Linked DNA regions of Homo sapiens: all the other regions are linked to region 1. The links are contacts of gene promoters, found by promoter capture Hi-C in blood cells and fetal thymus (Javierre and others, 2016). All regions are on one chromosome and are shown on one strand. The core of a region is centred on a gene start or on the middle of the fragment in contact, and the rest is flanking DNA. Distances in the headings are between cores, read along the strand shown. Region 1 holds the start of OPTC (opticin). Region 2 holds the start of PLEKHA6 (pleckstrin homology domain containing A6). Region 3 overlaps ETNK2 (ethanolamine kinase 2).

Region 1 (3,349 bases), core at 582-3,081:
GAAGATGGAGGCATACAGCCCGCCAAATGTGCCATCTGCCTACTGGATGCCCTCCAGGATCCAGGGCTATCTTTCCCTCCACCCAGCAGAGCCTCTGATGGTGTCTTTTCCCAGGTGGGGGGCTGCCAGGGGTACAAGAACATGCTCTTCTCTGGTGACCAGGCTCTTGGGCTGAGGGAAGCCCCCTCTTGCACCAGCTGGAGCCCAGGAACACAGCAAGCCAAATGCTGCCCTCGAGGGCCAGGCTATTAGATCTGCCTCTTCACCTGGTGTGCCAGGGCAGAGATGAGTTCTGCCAAGCCATCTGCTCTGAGGGCCTGGAAACACACGGATTCAGGACTCCTGGGGAAGAAGGTGGAAATGGGGAGGGTCATATGAACTAAAGAAAACTCTCTGACCAGGGAGTCAAAAAATCTAGGCATTGGCCCTGGCTCTGTGTGACCTAGGGCAAGTCACGTCACCTCTTTGGGCCTCACTCTCCTCATCTATACCACAAGGACTTGGACTAGATCTTTAGGGGGCCTCACAGCTGGAATTCAGTATCTGGTTGGTGGAAAGGAGTAGGGAACAAGGAGAGTCACTGAGAAACCTGGGTGGGCGCCAGGGCACAGGCTGGCAGAAGCTGGGGAAGACTCCTTAGCCACCCCACCTCTGCCTTCAGCAAGGACTTGCTCGGCAGCCTGCTCGAGGCACCAAGGAAAGGGGAGTGTTTCCAGATGAATGCCGTTGGCCCTCTGTATCTGTGGGTTCCACATCCGTGGATTCAACCAACCACAGATTGAAAATATTCAGAAAAAAAAAAAATTCACAACGTTCCAAAAAGGAAAACTTGAATTTGCTGTGTGCCAGTACTATGTGGAATCCATGTGAATGGAGTGAGGTGTAAGCATTGTGTTTGGTGTTATAGGTAATCTAGAGATGATTTGAAGTACACAGGAGGATGTGCGTAGGTTATGTGCAAATTCACCATTTTATATAAAAGACCTCAGCATATGTGGATTTGGTATCCACTGGACGTGCAGAACCAATCCCCCATGGTTACTGAGGGACGACTGTACATCTCTGAGGGTGCGGGAGAGGATACTTCCCAGGCCCCCGAGACCCTACACAATGTCTACTGGTGTTTATGATCCTTTCTAGGGCCCACCTCCCAATTTCCATTTGGTTTCCTCCTAGCAGATTTAGAGAATTTCCCGTATCCTCATGATCATCATCTGTGAACTTGAAGTTGGCTTTCAAATCCGATCTCATCCCCCATACACCTTCTCTTTGAACTACCTAGGCCTGCAGCTCCTGTCTCTGGTGATTTTATTCAATTATGGTCTCTGTGCTGGCGCTCTAGGTGAGGGTGAAGTGCCTCATTTCCACCTATTTTTATCTTTGGATTCTGGCTATGAAGCTGAAGCCTTGTCACTCTCTGGCTGGAGAAAGAAGCTGCAAAGACAAGCTCTATCTCTCCATATCCCCCGACTCCAGCCTTCTCTGAGGACTCAGAATCTGAGGGATGGGGCCCCTTCCTTGCAGGGGATGGCACTCCCTGTTCCTCAAAGATGTGGCCTTATCAGGAGAGTGGACAAGGAAAAGAAAGAAGGAGCTGACAGAGTAAGAGGAGAGAGAGCAGGAGCTGGAGGTGGGGGGTGAAGCGGAAGGTGGGGGGAGAATTCTCTTTTGTCAAATACAGGAATGGGGCAGGGGACCCCCTGAGGAAAGAGGAGGGGAAACAGCTGGACATCAGAAGGAATGAGAAGTCTGATTGGTCGCAGGCCTGGCCAACTCCTTGCCCTCCCCCGGGCACCACTGTCTAACCCAAGCCCCAGTTCAGACAGCCTCCACCAGAGTCCCCACCTTTCTGGAAGCTGCAGGGCTCTCCATCCAGGATCCAGAAGCATTGAAGGGGTAAGGCTCAAGGTTGAGGCCTCTGGCCATCGGTGCGCAAATGAGGGCAAAGTGTTTGGCTGGGGCAGGGGATTGGGAAGGGAAAATGAAGAGAGTTTAGGCCTCTGGCCAAAGAAGTTGGACAAGACTTTTGGGTGGGCACTAAACTCTCTTAGAAAAATTTTTTTTGAGATTATGTAATTCGTTTGGGGTGAGGTATGGGAGGTAAGGTGAAGAAACACCTCTTGCTACTGCTAGAGGCTTGCCCCCTTGCCCAGCTAAAATTAAGAAAGGGTGGGGAGGTTAACTGGGCATGGTAACACACGCCTGTAGTCCCAGCTACTTGGGAGGCTGAGGCAGGAGGACTGCCTGAGCCCAGGAGGTTAAGGCTTCAGTGAGCTGAGATCATGCCATAACACTCCAGGCTGGGCAACAGAGTGACACCGTCTTAAAAATAGAAAATAAAATAAAAATTAAAAGATAAAAAAAATTTTAAAAGAAAGAAAGAGGGAGAGTCTACTAGAAACTTGTGCAGCTAGCTTTGGGGAGGGCTGTGTTAAGCCTACACTGGGTATGACTGTTGTATACACTTATGCCTGGATACAAAACCACACCACATGCATTTCCTGACCCGTCTATACATATACGAACTACATGAACATTTGTACTCACATGCATATCACATACATACGCAGGCATCTGTGTGCACACACACACAAATATACACAGGTATCTAAGGAAATTTCCAGATGCGTACACACTCATGCAATCACACACAAAGAACTCTTTTATCTGTAATAATCTGTTTCTAAAAAGCTGCATTTAGAAGTATATTTCATAAACTAACATTCTTTTTTACATTGTATGTTTCATTGTAAGTCCATGTCTCCTAAAGAGACTAGGTGCTCCTAGGAAGGGCTGTGCCTCATTCATTCTGTACCCACAGAGACAAGTCCTGTGCCTGGAACTCAATAGACACCCATAAATGTTTGTTGAGCAAATGCATGAATGGATGATCTTTATAAAAAACCACAAGAGTCAACTGGGCGCGGTGGCTCACACCTGTAATTCCAGCACTTTGGGAAGCCAGGGTGGGTGGATCACCTAAGGTCAGGAGTTCGACACCAGCCTGGCCAATATGGTGAAACCCCTTCTCTACTAAAAATACAAAAATTAGCCAGGCATGGTGGGTGCCTGTAATCCCAGCTACTCAGGAGGCTGAGGCAGGAGATTCGCTTGAACCCAGAAGGCGGAGGTTGCAGTGAGCCAAGATCGCACCACTGCACTCCAGCCCGGGAAACAAGAATGAAACTTCGTCTCAAAAAAACAAACAAACAAAAAGACCCCATAAGATTATTTGATGTTGACATTCTCTAAATCGAGCTTAGTGACTAGCAGTCATGTTCTGAGCATGGGGTTGTTTAAGAGAGGACATCTGTGTGCATGCACCAGTGTGTGCCTCGTTTGTAAACAA
Region 2 (3,349 bases), core at 446-2,945, 870 kb after region 1:
CTCGCTTGTTTCCATAAGGAAAGCCCAGTGGCAGTGCCAGGAGGGGTGCCTTCAGCCCCTCCTGCCACCCCAACCTGGAGACAGGCCAGAGCCTAGCCGCTCCCACCTCCCCTCCACCAGCAGGGTCTGCTCATGTCCTGCTGAAGCTAAAATGCAGCTGCTCGGGGGTGAAAGCTGGCGACTGAACCGTCCTAGCCACAGGAGCCCTCCTCAGTTTCATACTCTTCCAGGGTGGCCTGGAAAACAGGATTTGGGAGATTTGTAGGGCAAGTGCCCGCAGTGCCCCCGCACCTGCCCAGACAGTGGGCTCAGGCAGATACCTGCCAGCCAGGACCCTGCCCCACCATGCAGGAGACCCTCAGCAGAGTGCACCACTCAAGTGATCAGATTGAGGGTAAAGGGTCTACAGGGCTTTGGGAAGAGCCTCCAATCCCTGAAGGCTGCAACCTCCTCTGACACCAGCTCTGAGCTCCAGCCTCCTCCCCACCACCTTCCACCCTCCTGCAGCTCTCCCTCCCCACCCCTGTGCCCCGGGGATGGCTCTCCCTCTATCCCGGTTCTCCATCTCTGCTCTCCCAGGCTCCACAGCCCCCTTCCCTGCCCTGGCTGGCCTGTTGTCTCAAAGAGCATTTCCCAGGAGCCTCTTCTCCCTTCTTCTCCCTTCTCCCCCACCCCCGCCACTTTCCTGTCTCGCCCCGCTTCCCTCCCCTTCCACTGTAGCCCTCCTTACCCTTCTCTGGCCAGTCCCCCAACTGTCCTCCTTTCCTCAGACTCCTCACACAATACCTCGAGGCTCTTAGCTGGCTGCAGCCTGGTCCCATCATTATAAATGCCATCCCCTCATTCCCTGCCCTCCTCTACCACATACCAGGCTCCAGCTCCTTCAAGAGCTCCCCACTAAATCTGAGACCCCCAGAGCTCAGATGCGTCCTAGGAATTGGAATCCAAGAGCCTCTGTCACCCTTCGACCCAACCTCTGACTCATAAGAATGATACACACCCTGACCCCTCCCCACGCTGAGGAAGGTGAGTCCCTGGGGCTGACCTGAGCCTGACCCTGGACCCCCTCCCTCTCTCCTTCCTGCTGGCAAGATTAAAGGGAGGGTGGGCTGGCCTCTCTGTGCTAGCTTGCGTGGGGGACCCCTGCTGGACCCTAGGAAGCTGCCAGCCCCAACGCTGCCTTCATCCAGGAGATGCAATTCAAATGTAATCAATTTAAACAGCATCAGCCCTGACAGGGGACTCTGGAGGTGGGGGTGGGGGCACAGGGAGGGCTATAATTAGCATTCTCAGCATCCATGATCCCCAAGTAAGGCTGCCAAGGATGAGAGATGGGGAAGCCAGTGCTCCGCAGTGCAAGCAGCCCAGGCTCACGCGGCAGACAGGCAGCTGCCAGCCCTGACCAGAGCCCAGCCTTCCTCCTCCCACCTCATCTATGTGATGCATGAAAACAGACTCACCGGCTTCTGAGGTGTGATCCCCGCGCTGGAAAGCTCTAACTCTGCGAGCCCCAAGGCACCCCTCCCCCCAGCTCAGGCCAGCTGGGGTCCTCCTCCCCCGCCCCTGGGGCCCCCTTCTGCAGAGCGGGGCTCCGGATCTAATCTGATCTAATCAGTCATCTCTCCGGCTGGCAGGTCCCTGGCGCAGGGAGAGGATGCTGTTGTGGTTACTGCAGGATCCAGCATCTTTCCCAGGCAGAGGCAGCTGGGCATGCTCCATCGGCTCCCCCGGGGATTTCAGGGCCACGTGACTCTCCCTCCCCAAGCTGTCACTTAGGATCAGGAGTAAATAGTCCCCGAAAAGGTTTAACTCCATCCACACCAGCGACAAGCTGCTAACCATCCACGCAGCCTGCCTGCCCGGGAGAGGATGGGGTGGCTCAGCACAGCCTCCTGGGCCTTCCACCACCAGGAGAAGGCTGCCCCCCAAAGGGGAGCAGGGCCACCGTCTGGGTAAGCTGCATTTTTAGAGTCCCCCACAAGAGACTGCAGGGAGCCAGAAACTGCCCAGGGTCTTAGAATCATGTGTGGGGCCTCACCCAGCCAGCCTGGTGATCACCTTTCACCTCTGTGGCTGTCTACTCCAGAGAGGGGCACGTCTCTAGGTGTCAAGAGGGCTTGGCTGGGGCCCTGGGGCCTCCCCATCCCCCGCCCCCCCCCCAATATGGTGAATTTAGAGAAATAACATTTGGAGAGGGTTGGGGGCCACTATGAGATGCCAGGATGAGTGGGGTGTGAGTGGGTTGTGGAGCCACTGCCCCCACACCAACCAGCCAGGCTCCTCCCAGGCCCTGGGAGGGAAGTCTGTGCTCCTGTTCCTTCCGTTGCACATTCCTTTACAGATAAGGGCTTCAGTTGGTAAAAATGATATAGGTACTCAGATCACACTAAGACAGACCCACTTGTATTGGAGTCGAGAGGCTTAATTTTTTAATCAAGTTGTTCTAATAATAAACAAAAAATGCAATTATCAGGTGAGTGGGGCCTTGCAGAAACCCTTTCTCTAGCTCCTGCCCAAATCGGTCTTGATAACCCTGAGCAAGGATGCTAGCCAAGCTACGGGGTACCTGGGTTCTGTATTATTCAGGATCAGAGGCAGAAGGAAGGACTTCAGACAATAGGGTCGTAGCTCTGTTTCTGCTTAGACAAAGATTGCTTTCTGCCTCAGTTTCCCTTTATCCACATCTCTCTCAGTTTTCCTCTATCCACGGATTCTCTGTGACAATGGGCAAGTGTAATAAAAACACTGATTTCATAAACAGGATCAGAAAGATGGAAAAAACCAAAAGATTCCCACCTCAACCTCCAGGCAGGCTCGCTGGTCTCAGTCCCATCTGCCCCTTAAACCTGGAAACTGGGGACTGAACCAGATGAGCTTCTGGAGTCACTTCTGAATAGAGAAATATGTCAAGAAGCAGGAGCTAGAGAAAGGGTGTCTGCAAGGCCCCACTCACCTGGTGATTGCATTTTTTGTTTATTATTAGAACAACTTGATCAAAAAATTAAGCCTCTTGACTCCAATACAAGTGGGTCTCTCTTAGTGTGATCTGAGTACATATATCATTTTTACCAACTGAAGCCCTTATCTGTAAAGGAATGTGCAACGGAAGGAACAGGAGCACAGACTTCCCTCCCAGGGCCTGGGAGGAACCTGGCTGGTTGGTGTGAAGGCTGTGGCTCCACACCCCACTCACACACACCACAGCATTGGAGGAAGACAGGGACCTAGAGAGCTACTGAAGGGACTGTCTTTCCCACCCCAGGGCAGGCCAGGCTGGAGCCAGGAATCTGGGGTTAGGGCAGCAGGCGCAGCTCAGCAGCACTCTTGGGGAGGGGGACTCTTGGTCACC
Region 3 (3,349 bases), core at 500-2,999, 640 kb after region 1:
GGGATTGGATGGGAGGAGGGTGAGGATCAAAAAACTACCTGTCACACACTGCTTATTACCTGGGTGATGAAACAATCTGTACACCAACCCCGGTGACAGGCAGGTTACCTATATAACAAACCTGCACGTGTACCTCTGAATCTAAAATAAAAGTAAAAAAATAAAATAAAATAAAGCCAGGGAGCTGCGGTTCCCGTCTACCCCTGAACAAACACTAGTGATGCCATCACTTTCCCATGTGAGTCCCCCAACCCTTGTGGCTCTCCCATCCCATTCCCACCCCATCCCAGAATCCTCCTCACTCAGGGGTTGGCTACAAAGTACCTCCCTCCACTTTATTTCCTTTCCATTCCTTAAAAGGGGCATAGATAAGCTAGCACATGTGAATGATCACTAAAAAACTTAGCAAGAGGAAGGCTTGTGCTTAAGGTCTTAAAGTCTTAAGACTGAGGAGGAAGAACCTAATGTAGACTCTGTTTTGTGCCAGTGAGGAAAACAGAATAGGGAATCCGAAATTACAGAAAAGTAAAGATTGTATTTAGCTCTCTTCTGTACTGTGAAATTCAAGGCAGCTGACTTGTCTTCTTACTTCTGCAAGCCAACATTAGCAATCCCTGGGCACACACCGGTGGAGACCTGGCATGAACCAGGTATCTTGGATAAGGGGCACTGAAAATTGAGAACTGACAGCACAGTCATTTGAGCAGGAAGAGCCTGTTGGGAAAAGCTTACTTAGAGTTCTGAGTCAGTGGAGGTAGTTACACAGAAGTATGAGCTTGATATTCTGTATCTTCTCTAAAGGTTAAAAAAATATATATGTATATACACACACACATATAGCCAGGCATGGTAGCTCACGCCTATAACCTTAGCTACTCAGGAGGCTGAGGTGGGAGGATCATTTGAGGCCAGGAGTTAGAGACCAGCCTGGGCAACATAGCAATAGCTGATCTCCACAAAAAGTTTAAAGAAATTAGCCGGGCATGGTGGCACACCTGTAATCCTAGCTACTCAGGAGGCTGAGGTGGGAGGATTGCTTGAGCCTGGGAGTTTCAGGCTGCAGTGAGCTATGATTGTGTCACTGTGCTCCAGCCTAGATGACAGAGCGGGACCCTGTCTCAAAAAAAGTATATATATATATATATATATATATGCCGGGCGCAGTAGTTCACTCCTATAATCCCAACACTTTGGGAGGCAGAGGCGGGCGAATCACCTGAGGTCAGGAGTTCAAGATGAGCCTGGCCAACATTGTGAAACCACGTCTCTACTAAAAATACAAAAAAACTAGTTGGGTGTGGTGGTACATGTCTGTAATCCCAGCTACTTGGGAGGCTGAGGGCAGGAAAATGGCTTGAACCTGAGAGGCGGAGGTTGCAGTGAGCCGAGATAGCGCCATTGCACTCTAGCCTGGGCAACAAGAGTGAGACTCTGCCTCAAAAAAAAAAAAAAAAAAGTATATATACATATATATGGATGAATTTAACTGCAGCATGAAGGGCTGAGGTTAGGCAGTAGAAAGAACTACTTATTCAAACAAGGGAATTGCTAACACAGGAAGCTAGGATATTTCTTGGAAGTATTTCTCTAGAAAGGAGAGAGCCTAGACTTGGTGGGGCTTGGGGAGCAGGGAACAGGGCATCAAGTATTAAGAGCTGCCTAAGATGGCTCTTCCCAGGCTTCACCTCTAGGGTGGGGTCAGGAGCCAGGGATGGGTGTCCCCAGGCTCTCACCTGACCCTGGGCTCTGGGTAGGAGGCTAGGTGGGTCACCAGTCCCTCCTGCTAACTCCTCCTTTCCTGCCCCAGCCCTAGAAATAAGGCACTCACCAGGGCAAACTTGTTGACTTGCACGTAGAGCCTTTGCACCTCCCTGGGGGTCACGGCCATCCCCTTTTGTGCCTGCAGGTAGTAGTGCAGCCACTGCAGCTGGGTCTCCCGCGCCGGGTACAGGCAGTAATCCACCTCATTCACGCCTGAGGGGGAGGCAGGCCAGACAAAGTTGCTCAGAGATGGGCCCACCAAGGGTCTCCTCAAGCTCAGTAGGTGTTCCCATCTCCCCTCAAACTCCCATCTCCTTTGATCTTTGGGGCTGTGCCCAAGGAGGCGGCCCGAGAAGGCAGCTTCTTTGATTACTAAACTCAGCTAGTGTGGGGTCTACCCCATCCCAGCTAGGAGCACTGTTTCTGTGGGATTGAGGAAAGCAGAGAGAGAGGTAGACTGGTTAAGGGGCAAGACACTGTCCTGGGAGTGACAGGAACCCCTCAAGACAGCACCACTGTCTTTCCCAACCCCTGCACAAAAATGATGGTGCACAGGAGGCCCTCAGTTAAAAGCACTGGATAAGCATTACTAGCCCTAGGTCTTATGCTAACCTTGTTAGCCTTAAGGGAACTCTTTTCTATCACTGGCCGAAATTTCTTCATTTATCAAATGAGGGAGCTGGACTTCATGTAGGGATATCAAACATGGCTTCCTGGTGTTAAGCTGGCTACTTAAAAACATCACCTGGAGAGCACCCCCACCCCAGTCCAGTTCCCCAGATGGCTCTGATGTGTAGCCAGGCTGGGAACCCATGGATCAGATGGCTCTGGTTTCTTCCAGCCCCACCATAGCCCTCCAGCTGCCAGCCCAGTACCACCAGCCTCATCCTGGGCATGGTAGAATAAACCACAGCTTCAGAGCTGGTACAGAAAGAAGTGGTTTAAGACAGGAGGACCAGGACTGGGCCACCTTCTCTAGGGTTCCCTCCTTCCTCTTCTTCTTGTCCTTCTCAAGCTTCCTTTATATCCCTGGAGAAACATACACAGTCTCCTGAGGCTCCAGGAGCGTGGCTAGAAAAGAATCTCCTGGAACAGATGTACAAACGGAGGCCCAGAGAGGAGAAGAAATGCACCCAAGGTCATATGGTGGTTAGAGGCAGAGTCAGGGCTGGAACTCTCATCTCCCAATGCCCAGAACTGTGTCTTCCTCACTCCTGCGCACCCATGAGGCCCCTCTCCCTAGGTCTGGATCTCCCTAGCTCTCTTCCTTCCCCCAGGCTAGGTTCTTCCTCCTCCATTCTCAACTTGAGAGCAGGCTGCAATCTACCCCTTTGGAGAAATTCCAGTTGGATTTTGCTCTGTGCTGTGGGCAAGGAGGACTTAAAATGCTTAAGAATTATCCCTTGTGGAAAGGCCAGGGGGCCTTGCAGCCAAGCATTCCCGGACCCAGGGCCCTGCCAGTGCCAGCCTCTGCTCCATGCCACACCCCGAGGCTCAGCTGCTCTGCCCAGCAGAGGCTCCATCACCCTGGGGGTTCCTAGGTGTACTCTCAGGTACAATCATTGCTCGACAGATTGATCACCTGGGG

Evidence for each region. The method cuts DNA at HindIII sites, captures the fragments that hold promoters and counts their contacts. A CHiCAGO score of 5 or more calls a contact.
Region 2: a contact is called between the fragment with the promoter of PLEKHA6 here and the fragment with the promoter of OPTC in region 1, in 3 of 17 cell types (total B cells, total CD4 T cells and naive CD8 T cells). The highest score is 9.1, in total B cells.
Region 3: a fragment that was not itself captured here is called in contact with the fragment with the promoter of OPTC in region 1 in 1 of 17 cell types (naive CD4 T cells); the score reaches 7.7 in naive CD4 T cells.

The regions. Positions count from the first base shown.
Region 1 is chr1:203,492,322-203,495,670 of GRCh38, forward strand. OPTC (opticin) reads left to right here and starts at 1,832. Exons shown (of 8, transcript NM_014359.4): 1 at 1,832-1,896. RefSeq lists a silencer at 1,325-1,553. The HindIII fragment of the contact is 16,129 bases long and covers 1-3,349 here.
Region 2 is chr1:204,358,234-204,361,582 of GRCh38, forward strand. It overlaps PLEKHA6 (pleckstrin homology domain containing A6), which reads right to left and starts at 1,696. Exons shown (of 23, transcript NM_014935.5): 1 at 1,461-1,696. RefSeq lists enhancers at 1-833, 949-1,584. The HindIII fragment of the contact is 7,112 bases long and covers 1-3,349 here.
Region 3 is chr1:204,135,276-204,138,624 of GRCh38, forward strand. It overlaps ETNK2 (ethanolamine kinase 2), which reads right to left. Exons shown (of 8, transcript NM_018208.4): 6 at 1,829-1,974. Among named protein-coding and RNA genes, the nearest start is that of ERLNC1, 4.5 kb to the right of the region's middle. The HindIII fragment of the contact is 2,049 bases long and covers 726-2,774 here.